2 separate regions of the Homo sapiens genome follow, and region 1 is linked to region 2. Evidence: promoter capture Hi-C in 16 types of primary human blood cells and fetal thymus (Javierre and others, 2016). All regions are on one chromosome and are shown on one strand. The core of a region is centred on a gene start or on the middle of the fragment in contact, and the rest is flanking DNA. Distances in the headings are between cores, read along the strand shown.

Region 1 (6,201 bases), core at 1,213-3,712, 240 kb after region 2:
AGTATCCAAAAACTGATACACGTATGTTCTGCTTTTATAATGTGTATTTTTCTCTCTTCTGTTTTTCATATCCAAAACTTGTAAATGCTATTTTAGGGGCAAAGCAGATTAGATTCCAACACTTGTTGAACAGAATTCACAAGCTGTGACAAAACTCTGTCATCTTCGGGGTGCAATTTTGTTTATATACACTGTATGTATATATTTCTTTTAGATTTGGCTGTAGTGGACTGGCCGTGGTTCAAGTGCCACCTTCATTCTAAGGCAAGGATATGCTGTGATGAAATCTTGGAAGTACAGCTAGAGTCATCATTCTAGCTGTTTGAAAAAGTGTATTTGGGCCGGGTGCCGTGGCTCATGCCTGTAATCCCAGCACTTTGGGAGGCCAAGGCGGGCGGATCACGAGGTCGGGAGACCATCCGGGCTAACACGGTGAAACCCTGTCTCTACTAAAAATACAAAAAAAAAAAATTAGCCGTGTGTGGTGGCGGGCACCTGGGGTCCCAGCTATTCTGGAGGCTGAGGCAGGAGAATGGCACGAACCTGGGAGGTGGAGTTTGCAGTGAGCCGAGATTGTGCCACTGCACTCCAGTCTGGGCAACAGAGCAAGACCCCGTCTCAAAGAAAAGAAAAAGTGCATTTGAAGTACGTCCATAAAGAAAGAGACCTAATTTTAGAAGACATTTATGCTGGGTGAAAGTTTTTCTCCACTCTATTATGGACCATATGATGGCAACTAGTTTTGTTTTTTTGTTTTTGTTTTTGTTTTTTTGAGACAGAGTCTCACTCTGTCACCTATGCTGGAGTGCAGTGGCGCAGTCTTGGCTCACTGCAACCTCTGCCTCCCGGGTTCAAGCAGTTCTCCTGCCTCAGCCTCCCAAGTAGCTGGGATTACAGGTGTGCACCACCACACCCGGCTAATTTTTGTATTTTTAGTAGAAATGGGGTTTCACCATGTTGGCCAGGCTGGTCTCGAACTCCTGACCTCAGATGATCTGCCCGCCTTGGCCTCCCAAAGTGCTGGGATTACAGGCCTGAGCCACCGTGCCTGGCTGGCAACTAGTTTTTTTATTTGTTAATTTGATTTTTTTTAATTCAAATCTACAGAAAAGTTGGAAGAATATTACAGTGAATTTTTATGTACTCTTCCCTTAGATTTGCACATTGTTCACTCTTTACCACATTACTTTCTTTCTCCTATATATTGTATAACTATTATTTTTGCATTATATTTACACATTCTTATTCTTTTTTTTTTTTCTGAACCCTTCAGAGATGTTACTTATATCTCATGAATAAGAATGTGGACCAAAATGTAATTTTATCAAATTCAGGAATTTTTTTTTTTTTTGAGATGGAGTCTCGCTGTCACCCAGGCTGGAGTACAGTGGCGCAATCTCGGCTCCCTGCAACCTCCACCTCCTGGGTTCAAACGATTCTCCTGCCTCAGCCTCCTGAGTAGCTGGGACTACAGGCATGCGTCACCACACCTGGCTCATTTTTGTATTTTACTAGAGAAAGGGTTTCGCCATGTTGGCCAGGCTGGTCTCGAACTCTTGACCTCAAGTGTTTACACTCCTCAGCCTGCCAAAGTGCTGGGATTACAAAGGTGAGCCACCACAACCAGCCAAATTCAGGAAATTTAATATTGATGCAATACTGTTACCTAGTATACAGTTGGGTTCAAATGTTGCCAGTTGTTTCAGTACTGTCCTTCACAGAAACTTTTTAAGAAATCCAGGAACTGGTCCAGCATCAAGCTTTGCATTTAGTTGTCACACTTTATTCTCCTTTAATCTAAAATGGATCTTCAGATTTTTTTTTTTTTGTTCTTTTATAACACTGACGTTTTTGAAGAGTGACGAGCCCATTATATTATTAAATTTTCAGCCTTTCAATTTGAGCTTGTCCAATCACTTCCTCATGGTTAGTTTCAGGTTATACAGTTTTAGCAAGAAAGCTATGTAAGTAATACATCACATCAGAAGGGATGTGAAGTCAGTTTCTTCAATTGTTGTCCAGGCCAAGGTGAAAGTTCCCCCTCACCCTTGAAAAAATCAGCTCATTAGCTCATTGGCTGGGCATGATTGCTCATGCTGTAATAATCATAGCACTTTGGGAGGCTGAGGTGAGAGGATTGCCTGAGCGCAAGAGTTTGAGACCAGCCTGAGCAACATAGTGAGATGCTGTCTTTACAAAAAAATAAAAAATTACCTGGGCATGGTGGTGTGCACCTGTAGTCCCAGCTGAGGTGGGAGGATTGCTTGAGCCTGGGAGGTCCAGGCTGCAGTGAGCCATGATCATCATGGCACTCCAGCCTGAGCAACAGAGACCTTGTCTCCAAAAGATAATCAACTCATTCACAAGGCCAGGTTCAGTGGCTCACACCTGTAATCCTAATCCCAACACTTTAGGAGGCCAAGATGGGAGGATCACTTGAAGCCAGGAGTTCCAGACCAGCCTGGGCAACATATCAAGATCGCGTTGCTACCAAAAAAAAAAAAGAAAAATCAACTCACAAAAGGCATATGAATTGGAAAAAAAGGCATACAGATTTTTTTTTTCCTAAGGTACTTTTGCTATAGCTTGCTCTTTCTTTTTTTTTTTTTTTTTTTTTTTTGATACAGGGTTTTGCTTTGTCACCCAGGCTGGAGTGCAATGACATGATCACAGCTCACTGCAGCCATACCTCCTGGGTTCGAGTGATCTTCCCACATCAGCCTCCTGAGTAGCTGGGACTATAGGTGAGCATCACCACACCCAGCCAGTTTTTTGTATTTTTGTAGATAAATGTTACCCAGCCTGATCTTGAACTCCTGAGCTCAAGCTATCCTCCTGCCTCGGCCTCCTAAAGTATTGAGATTATAGGCGTGAGTCACTGGGCTGGCCAAGGCATACAAATTTATCACAGAGTGATTGCCCATCCCCCCAGGTGGTTCAGAGGTTATATACCATTCTGGCAAAACAGGTTATGGAAACCTGGAGAAGAGGAATTCCGCTGAGGGGATTACTAGGGAGAATGAATGGATCAGGGAACAGAGATTAACCTGCACATTATCTTGTGAAAGGGTCCATTTAGGTGTGGTTACATTTGTGGTGTTACAACATACAGAAGAACAGTTGTTCCTTTAGGTGGGTCTGGATTTTAGGCGCATAAAGGAATTTAAGCTTTACTGTATGCTTTGGAAGAGAAGGTTTGTGTGGATGGAGTGAGGTGTCAGAGATACCTTGAGGCTTCTTTGGTTAGCATAGCCATATTTGGGGGTATTGATTTCTTTTGTTTCTTTCGTTTGTTTGTTTGTTTTTGAGACGGAGTCTGTCGCCCAGGCTGGAGTACAGTGATGTGATCTTGGCTCACTGCAAGCTCCGTCTCCCAGGTTCACACCATTCTCCTGCCTCAGCCTCCCAAGTAGCTGGGACTACAGGTGCCCACCACCACGCCCAGCTAATTTTTTGTGTTTTTAGTAGAGACAGGGTTTCACCATGTTAGCCAGGATGGTCTTGATCTCCTGACCTTGTGATCCACCCGCCTCGGCCTCCCAAAGTACTGGGATTACAGGCGTGAGCCACCGCACTTGGCCTCTTTTGTTTTTTGAGACGGGAGTTTCACTCTTGTGCCCAGGCTGGAGTGCAGTGGCACAACCTCAGCTCACTGCAGCCTCTACCTCCTGGGTTCAGATGATTCTCCTGCCTCATCCTCCCGAGTTGCTGAGATTACAGGCACGCACCACCATGCCTGGCTAATTTCTTATTTTGAGTAGAGACAGGGTTTCACCATATTGGCCAGGCTGATCTCGAACTCCTGACCTCAGGTGATCCGTCCGCCTCCGCCTCCCAGAGTGCTGGGATTACAAGCGTGAGCCACTGCGCCCGGCCTGGGTATTGATTTCTGAGCCCCAATATCAGTATGTTATCTTTGATGACTTTGTTAAGATTGTATCCACCAGGTTTCTCTTTGTAATTAATAAGTAGTAACCTGTGTTCCCATAGATTGTGTAAATATCTCATTTGTAAATAAAGTTTCACCCAGAAATTTTAGCATTCCTTGGTGATTTGCTTGAACCAGTTATTCCTATAATGGTTACAAAATTGTCATTTTCTAAGTCTGCTATTCTTACATTTATTTATTGTATTATACTATAAAGAAGTATTTTCCCCATCTTCATTTATTGCACAGCTCCCTTTGAAACCACAGTGTTAGGAGGAAGGTGTAAACATTTGCTATAGAAAAAAAGGACTATGTCAGGAAAGGATTGTATCTGCTCTTCCACTGTTAGTTTAAGAAATAAGGTCGGGTGCGGTAATCCTGTAATCCCAGCACTGTGGAAAGCCGAGGTGGATGGATCACTTGAGGCCAGGAGTTCGAGACCAGCCTGGCCAACATGGCAAAACCTCATCTCTACTAAAAATAAGATAATTAGCCCGGGCCGGGCGTGATGGCTCACGCCTGTAATCCCAGCACTGTGGGAGGCCGCAGTGGGCAGATACCTGAGGTCAGGAGTTTGAGTCCAGTCTGGCCAACATGATGAAACCCTATCTCTACAAAAATATGAAAATTAGCTGGGCATGATGGCAGGTGCCTGTAATTTCAGCTACTTGGGAGGCTGAGGCAGAAGAATCACTTGAACTTGGGAGGCGGAGGTTGCAGTGAGCCGAGATTGCACCACTGCACTCCATCCAGGGCGACAGAGCAAGACTCTGTCTCAAAAAATAAATAAATAAATACAGAGAAATGTAAAATTATAAATTAAATTTTAATGCTTCCAAAACCTACATGTTCTCGCATGATAAACATGAGTTTAAAAGCTTTTTTTGAGAAGAAGTTTTGCTCTTGTTGCCCAGGCTGGAGTGCAATGGCGCGATCTCAGCTCACTGCGACCTTCGCCTCCTGGGTTCAAGCGATTCTCCTGCCTCAGCCTCCCAAGTAGCTGGGATTACAGGCATGTGTCACCATGCCTGGCTAATTTTTTTATTTTTTTATTTTTAATAGAGATGGGGTTTCTCCATGTTCATCAGGCTGGTCTCGAACTCCTGATCTCAGGTGATCTGCCCGCCTCGGTATCCCAGAGTGCTGGGGTTACAGGTGTGAGCCACCGTGCCTGGCCTGAATTTAAGAGCATTTTTAAGGCCAAGCGCAGTGGCTCATGCCTGCAATCCCCAGCAGTCTGGGAGGCTGAGACGGGAGGATTGCTTGAGCCCAGGAGTTCACAACCAGCCTGGGCAACAAGGCAAAGCCCCATCTCTACAAAAAAATACAAAAAATTAGCTGGGTGTGGTGGCATGCTAGTAGTCCCAGCTACTCCTGAGGCTGAAGTGGGAGAATCACCTGAGTCCAGCAGGTTGAGGCTGCAGTGAGCTGTGATCGGGCCACTGCACTCTAACCTGGACAAAGGATTGAGACCTTGTCTCAAAAAAAAAAAAAAAAAAAGGCAGGAAAAAAAGCATTTTGGCCAGGCATGGTAGCTCACGCCTGTAATCCCAGCATTTGGGAGACCGAGGTGGGCAGATCACCTGAGGTCAGGAGTTCTAGATCAGCTTGGCCAACACGGTGAAACCCCATCTCCATTAAAAATACAAAAATAAGCTGGTGTGGTGGCATGTGCCTCTGGTCTCAGCTACTCGGGAGGCTGAAGCAGGAGAATCACTTGAACCTGGCAGGTGGAGATTGCAGTGAGATCGTGCCACTGCATACCAGTCTGGGTGACAGAGTGAGACTCTGTCTCAAAAAAAACCTGAAAACAAAACCCCGCGTTTTAAGCATCCAAAGTGTTGAATATTTGTCAGCAAATAGTTTTTTTTTTTAATTACAGGTAAAACATTCTATTATTTCTTTAATAGTTTTGAGGTTACTGCTTATATATTTTATGTAAGTAGAAGTAGGCATTATACAAATGTGAAAGCAATGTTGTTAATATGCCAGGAATTGTTACTCAGAAAAACTGAATTTGGGATTCATTTTTAGAATAAATCAAGGAAATATTAATTGGTTAACTGTTCATTGTTAATATTAGATTAGGTCCATATATATCTAACAGTCTTCTCTACACAGCAACCTGAGCAATCCTTTTTAAAAATGTACTTGTTGAGGTGTAATTGACATAAATAAATTATATCCATTATAAATTTACAGTTTCACAAATTTTGGCAAATGCATAAGTCTTATAATCACCACCACAATCAAAACATGGAAATTCCTATCAC
Region 2 (6,028 bases), core at 507-3,006:
TGATCCAGCGGGAGGACCAGGAGACGGCTGTGTAGCGGGCCGCCCACGGGCAGCAGGAGGGACAATGCGGCCAGGGGACGAGCGCCTTCCTTGCCCACCTCACTGCCACATTCCAGTGGGACGGCCACGGGGGGACCTAGGCCCCAGGGAAAGAGCCCCATGCCGCCCCCTAAGGAGCCGCCCAGACCTAGGGCTGGACTCAGGAGCTGGGGGGGCCTCACCTGTTCCCCTGAGGACCCCGCCGGACCCGGAGGCTCACAGGGAACAAGACACGGCTGGGTTGGATATGCCTTTGCCGGGGTTCTGGGGCAGGGCGCTCCCTGGCCGCAGCAGATGCCCTCCCAGGAGTGGAGGGGCTGGAGAGGGGGAGGCCTTCGGGAAGAGGCTTCCTGGGCCCCCTGGTCTTCGGCCGGGTCCCCAGCCCCCGCTCCTGCCCCACCCCACCTCCTCCGGGCTTCCTCCCGGAAACTCAGCGCCTGCTGCACTTGCCTGCCCTGCCTTGCTTGGCACCCGCTCCGGCGACCCTCCCCGCTCCCCTGTCATTTCATCGCGGACTGTGCGGCCTGGGGGTGGGGGGCGGGACTCTCACGGTGACATGTTTACAGCTGGGTGTGACTCAGTAAAGTGGATTTTTTTTTCTTTTCTGCTTTTCTTCTTTTGCGGGGGAGGTCTAACAAGCAGCGGGGGCTGCGGGGTTGTCCTCGGGGTGGGGGACTGGACGCTGTCGACAGCACCTTCCTGGGGCCCCGGCTCCCGTTTGGTGGTTGGTCCCAGGGCCTGCCCGGTTCCTGACCTCTGCCCGGCGGCCGCGCTCGTCGGGGCCGGGGGCGGGGCCGATCCCTCCGGCTTCCCGCTTCCCGCGGAGAACAACAATGAAAGTGAAAGAGGGGTGGGGCGGGGGCGAGCCCGGGTTCTGTGGCCCATTTGCCCTGTGGCCTTGAGCAAGCCCCTCCCCCAGGCCTCGGGGGCTCTCCCGGTTTGGGGGAACCGGGCGAGGCAATGCCACAGGCCCAGGGTTAGAGGGGGTGGGCACTTGCAGCTGCCGATGTGGCTGGATCTGGAACTTCTCAGACGGCTCCTGTCAGCGCCAAGTTTCACCAAATCCAGGCCTGCGGGCTCCTCCCCCAGGACCCCCACTCGCAGTCCCTCAAGCCTGTGCTCCCGGAAAGGCACTGGGCGACCGCACCCGTGGCTTTCTCTGGGCGACCGGGTCCCAGACTCCCCCCAGCACAGCAGAGCGCTTCCCTGCCCACCCGCGGAAACCGCCCCAGGTGGGCCGCGCCCCCTCCCCAGCAGCCAGCAGGGCGCCAGGGCTGAGCCGGCCGTGGAGGGGAGCGGGTCCCGCGGGTTATACAGGCGCCGGGGCTCCGCGGCAGGCAAGAGAAGCTGAGGCCTGAGAACGGCCCGGGCCTTGGCGTACGGCAGGGGACGACCTGGGATGGGGGCAGCGGGCGGCGGCGCAGGGAGTGGGCCGGGGGCCGGTGTGCGCGGGCGGGACGGGGCCCGGGGTCGGGAGACCACCGCTCGGAAGATGGGGCCGGGAGAGGCCGCCGTCGCAGCGCAGAGGGCACCGGCGGGGAGACGCGAGGACGCGGGGCCGGGAACACGGACGCCGGAGTAGAAGCGCGGGGGGCGCGGGCTGGAGCGGGGGCGGGGACGCCGGGGTCGGGGGCGGTGCGGGTTTGAGGGGAGGGGGCGGGGCGGGTCCTTCCCTGGGGGGGTGGGGAGAGGGGGCGGGGGCCCATGTGACCGGCTCAGACCGGTTCTGGAGACAAAAGGGGCCGCGGCGGCCGGAGCGGGACGGGCCCGGCGCGGGAGGGAGCGAAGCAGCGCGGGCAGCGAGCGAGTGAGCGCGCGGCGGCCCCTGGTCCGCCCGGCCGCGGCCGATCTAGGGGCTGGGGGCTGGAGGCGGGGGTGGGGGTCTGAGCTGCGTCCTGGGCTCGAGGCGTCCCCCGGGGAGTCGCCTCTTAGCGGTGCGTCCGGGCTAGCGGCGAGGGGCCGCCCCAAGTCTTCCCACCGCCGCCACCTTAGCAGCCCGACTTGGGGCCTGGAAAGTGGAGCACGCGGAGGTGGGAGGGCCCTGCACGCGGCCCCCGGTGGGGAAGGGGACGGGCCAGGGATTCAGACTCGGGCTCTCCCCTCAGGATGCAGCACCGAGGCTTCCTCCTCCTCACCCTCCTCGCCCTGCTGGCGCTCACCTCCGCGGTCGCCAAAAAGAAAGGTGATGGGGGATGATCGAAGGAGGGCTGGGGACGGGCAGGCGAGGCCCCTCCACTTCTGGGCTGGGCCGCCTGGGTTCCTAGCCTGGAACCCCAGGAAGGCGGCTCCCGAGGGAGTCTCCCCGTGCCCCAGTCCTGAACTCTGTTCCTCGCGCGTTGTAGATAAGGTGAAGAAGGGCGGCCCGGGGAGCGAGTGCGCTGAGTGGGCCTGGGGGCCCTGCACCCCCAGCAGCAAGGATTGCGGCGTGGGTTTCCGCGAGGGCACCTGCGGGGCCCAGACCCAGCGCATCCGGTGCAGGGTGCCCTGCAACTGGAAGAAGGAGTTTGGAGGTGAGGCGGGGCGCAGTCAGAGGGCAGGAGACGGGGGGCACAGCCTCGCCGAAGCCTGGGCGGACCCTTGGCGGAGGGCGGGGCCGCGGGCCGCGCAGCGCTGACCTGGGCCGCTCTCTCGCCAGCCGACTGCAAGTACAAGTTTGAGAACTGGGGTGCGTGTGATGGGGGCACAGGCACCAAAGTCCGCCAAGGCACCCTGAAGAAGGCGCGCTACAATGCTCAGTGCCAGGAGACCATCCGCGTCACCAAGCCCTGCACCCCCAAGACCAAAGCAAAGGCCAAAGGTCAGCGAAAGGAGAAGGGGGTGGGGCTGTCGCGGGGGGCTGCCCCCCCCCCCCCCCGCCTGTGAGGGGACAATTCCAAGTTAAACCTTAAGTTTTGAGTCCTGGCCAGTGGCTTCCTGACATCGCCTCACTTGGCTTCCCTGCCTGGAAAAGTCTGAAGATGGGCACTACAAGAGAGGCCGCAGGTGATGCTGGGGACATAAATCCTCCCTGGCCCAAATAGGGACCAACTCAAACTACTCCATTGGAGCATCTGGCTTAGGACCCAGGGAGAGTGTCCTGGAACGGCTTGCCTTTGTCAGCTCTCCAGCCACGGGCAGCATTTGGTCAGCTCTGCCCTTTCTAGTGTTGGGAGGAGGTCAAGGCCCACCCTGGGCCTCTCAGCTCACTCGTGACTCAGCCCAGCGAGGCCAGCAGGGCAGGGGTGAATCTGCCCGCTTCTCAGGTGAGGAGGCTGAGGATGCCCAGGGCTGCTGTGACCAGGACTAGGACTGGAAACTTGAAGGTTTTCTGATCCCAAGTGGAAATAGGAAGCTGGGGATGTCCCATGTCCACATCACAATGGCTGCCCCATCCCCTGCTTCCGAGTCAGCTGATTGGAAACCACTAGGGGGCAGAATCTTCTCCTTCCCTGATGCCCGGGTGTTTGTGGAGCCGGCGGTCTGCAATGGGTCAGCCTAACTGCTGATATGGTATTAATATTTCTTTCTTGTTTTACAGCCAAGAAAGGGAAGGGAAAGGACTAGACGCCAAGCCTGGATGCCAAGGAGCCCCTGGTGTCACATGGGGCCTGGCCCACGCCCTCCCTCTCCCAGGCCCGAGATGTGACCCACCAGTGCCTTCTGTCTGCTCGTTAGCTTTAATCAATCATGCCCTGCCTTGTCCCTCTCACTCCCCAGCCCCACCCCTAAGTGCCCAAAGTGGGGAGGGACAAGGGATTCTGGGAAGCTTGAGCCTCCCCCAAAGCAATGTGAGTCCCAGAGCCCGCTTTTGTTCTTCCCCACAATTCCATTACTAAGAAACACATCAAATAAACTGACTTTTTCCCCCCAATAAAAGCTCTTCTTTTTTAATATATAAAAGCCCCTTCCCAAGGAGTTTGCTGTGGAAATGTGTTTGGGAGTGGGAAGGTGGGGAGAAAGACCAGGCTGTAGGGACTGGTGGGTTTCAGGGGGCTTGGTGGTGGGTGCTCTCCAGAGCTCATGGAAAAAGCAGAACAATTACAAACATTTCTTCCAGGGCCCCTGAAAGGGTGCTCCCCATCAAGTCACCTAAGCCTTTCGGTCCTCATCTCCCTCAGGGACCAGGGCTGGGGAAGGGAACCTGGCTGACTCACTGGAACCACCACACCCATCTCAGCCTCACCCAGTCAAAGGTCTTTTGATACAACCCACAGCCAATCAGGAAGGTTCTACCCATGGGGGAGAGCAGATGCGAGGGCTGCGTGCCTACCTCACTGCCCACCTCCCCCCTTCCCACTGTCATGGAAACCCGAGTGAGCCACCAGGTTGACCCCTTTCCTCTTGCCTGTGTGACCCAGGCCTCCACCCTGCAGAAGCCAGGGGGTGAGAGGTTTGAAGAGGGCAGATGGGAATGCCATCCACCACAGCCTCACCCTGACTCGATGTGTGACCTGGGACAGCCTTCTAAGGCCGGGGCTGCAGGGGGCTGTCTTCTGAATACGTGGACCACTCACGGCTCAGCCTGGGATCGCAGAAGGCCAGACCTCAGTTCCTGAGACAGAACCTCTGACCTCCCAGCTGCCCCATCTTAATGTGACAAGGGCAGTGCTGCTGGGGCGGGGGGGACCTGGCCTCCATCATACCCACCCAGAACCTGGCTAAGTAGCTGCAGCCAGAGGAGATTTCTGCCCCTGGAGTGGGATTTGGGGAGAGGGGGCTGAGCCTACATGCGGGGTGCAAGGGGGCAGAAAGCACCGATTACAGCAGAATGGGGGACCCCACCCTTCTACTCCCTTCCCAAGCCTCCTTTTCCAAGCACTGGCCCCTTTGTTCTTCCTGAGGGGGCCCTGGGCTTCGGCCCCCATCCAGATGTCCATTCTTCCAGCACTGCTGATGGTTGGTCACAGTGGGGCAGGTGCCCACCCAGGCCAGTGCCCCGCAGCTCGCTGAAGCAGGGCCACAGAGGTGGGCCAGGCAGCCCCAGTTCAGACACTCCCTGGGGTGAGCCTCCTCAGCCTGAGCAGAGATCTGGTCTCTGAATGCAGCCACAGAGCCTCTTCTGAACTTCCTCCTCAGCAAACGTGAACGCAGAATGGTGCCTGCAACTCTTCCCCACAGCAAGTGAGCCGTGTGGTCCCCCCAGCACACGCACGCAACACCAGCACCTCCTAGGGCACTCCTGCCTGCCTACCTGGCAGTGCCGATGTTCCGATACTGGCACAGCAGCAGGTGCCGGAAGGTCTTTTTAAAGGTGGCGTTGCACAGAGCATAGCAGGCAGGGTTGATGGTGCTGTTGACGTAGCAGAGCCAGTAGCCAATGGACCACACCGTGTCAGGGATGCAGCTCTGGCAGAAGGTGTTCACCAGGACCATGACGTTGTAGGGCGTCCAGGTGAGGATGAAGGCTAGCAGAATGGCAAAGATCGTTCGTGTCACTTTGCGCTCCCGGGCCGCCATCTGCCGCTTCTTGCGCACCTGGTTGCGAGCGATGCTGGCGAACTTGCGGGCCACGTTGGCCGCAGGGCGCATGCCAGCCGGCGTGGCAGGCACAATCTCAATGGCTGTCACACACTCATTGCCTGTCTGCTTCGTCACAATCTGGATCTTGGACCATCTGGAGGCTGGGTTGAGGGCCCGCGGCTGCAGGGGAGGGGCGGGCATGGCGGGCGTGGTGGCCTCTGTGGTGGACAGCTCTGTGGCTGGGCGTTCCTTGGTGTTCTGGGTGGCACTGCCTGAGCTGGACTCATTGGAAGTGTCCTTATCAGCCACGGGGCGCGGTGGCGGTGGCAGCGCTGGCGGGGGGGCCTCCTCCAGCTTGCCATTGCGCAGCTCCTCCCGGGCGGCCTCCCCGGGCGGGGGCTTCTTGACGCTCTGCTTCATTAGTGGGCTCTTGAGGAAGGCCAGCGTCTTGGCTTTCTTCTCCTTCGGGCCCTCGGGCCGGTGCTTGTGGACTCGGCTGCGACTGGCCAGGGAGATGTGGATGTACAGCACCGTCATGATGACCACAGGC

What was found. Contacts are between HindIII fragments. The CHiCAGO score rates a contact against its expected background, and 5 or more counts as called.
Region 1: a contact is called between a fragment that was not itself captured here and the fragment with the promoter of MDK in region 2, in 3 of 17 cell types (endothelial precursors, M0 macrophages and megakaryocytes). The highest score is 7.2, in endothelial precursors.

The regions. Positions count from the first base shown.
Region 1 is chr11:46,622,674-46,628,874 of GRCh38, forward strand. All of the region lies in intron 1 of ATG13 (autophagy related 13), which reads left to right. Among named protein-coding and RNA genes, the nearest start is that of ATG13, 8.2 kb to the left of the region's middle. The HindIII fragment of the contact is 1,408 bases long and covers 1,759-3,166 here.
Region 2 is chr11:46,379,913-46,385,940 of GRCh38, forward strand. MDK (midkine) reads left to right here and starts at 1,757. Exons shown (of 5, transcript NM_002391.6): 1 at 1,757-1,846; 2 at 2,145-2,221; 3 at 2,382-2,549; 4 at 2,675-2,836; 5 at 3,557-3,889. The coding sequence starts at 2,146. The coding sequence ends at 3,582. It overlaps DGKZ (diacylglycerol kinase zeta), which reads left to right. Exons shown (of 31, transcript NM_001199267.2): 31 at 1-639. The coding sequence ends at 35. CHRM4 (cholinergic receptor muscarinic 4) reads right to left here. Exons shown (of 2, transcript NM_000741.5): 2 at 3,877-6,028. The coding sequence ends at 5,206. RefSeq lists an enhancer at 488-1,122 and silencers at 622-831, 1,262-1,461, 1,892-2,001, 2,422-2,471, 2,447-2,741. The HindIII fragment of the contact is 6,060 bases long and covers 1-3,782 here.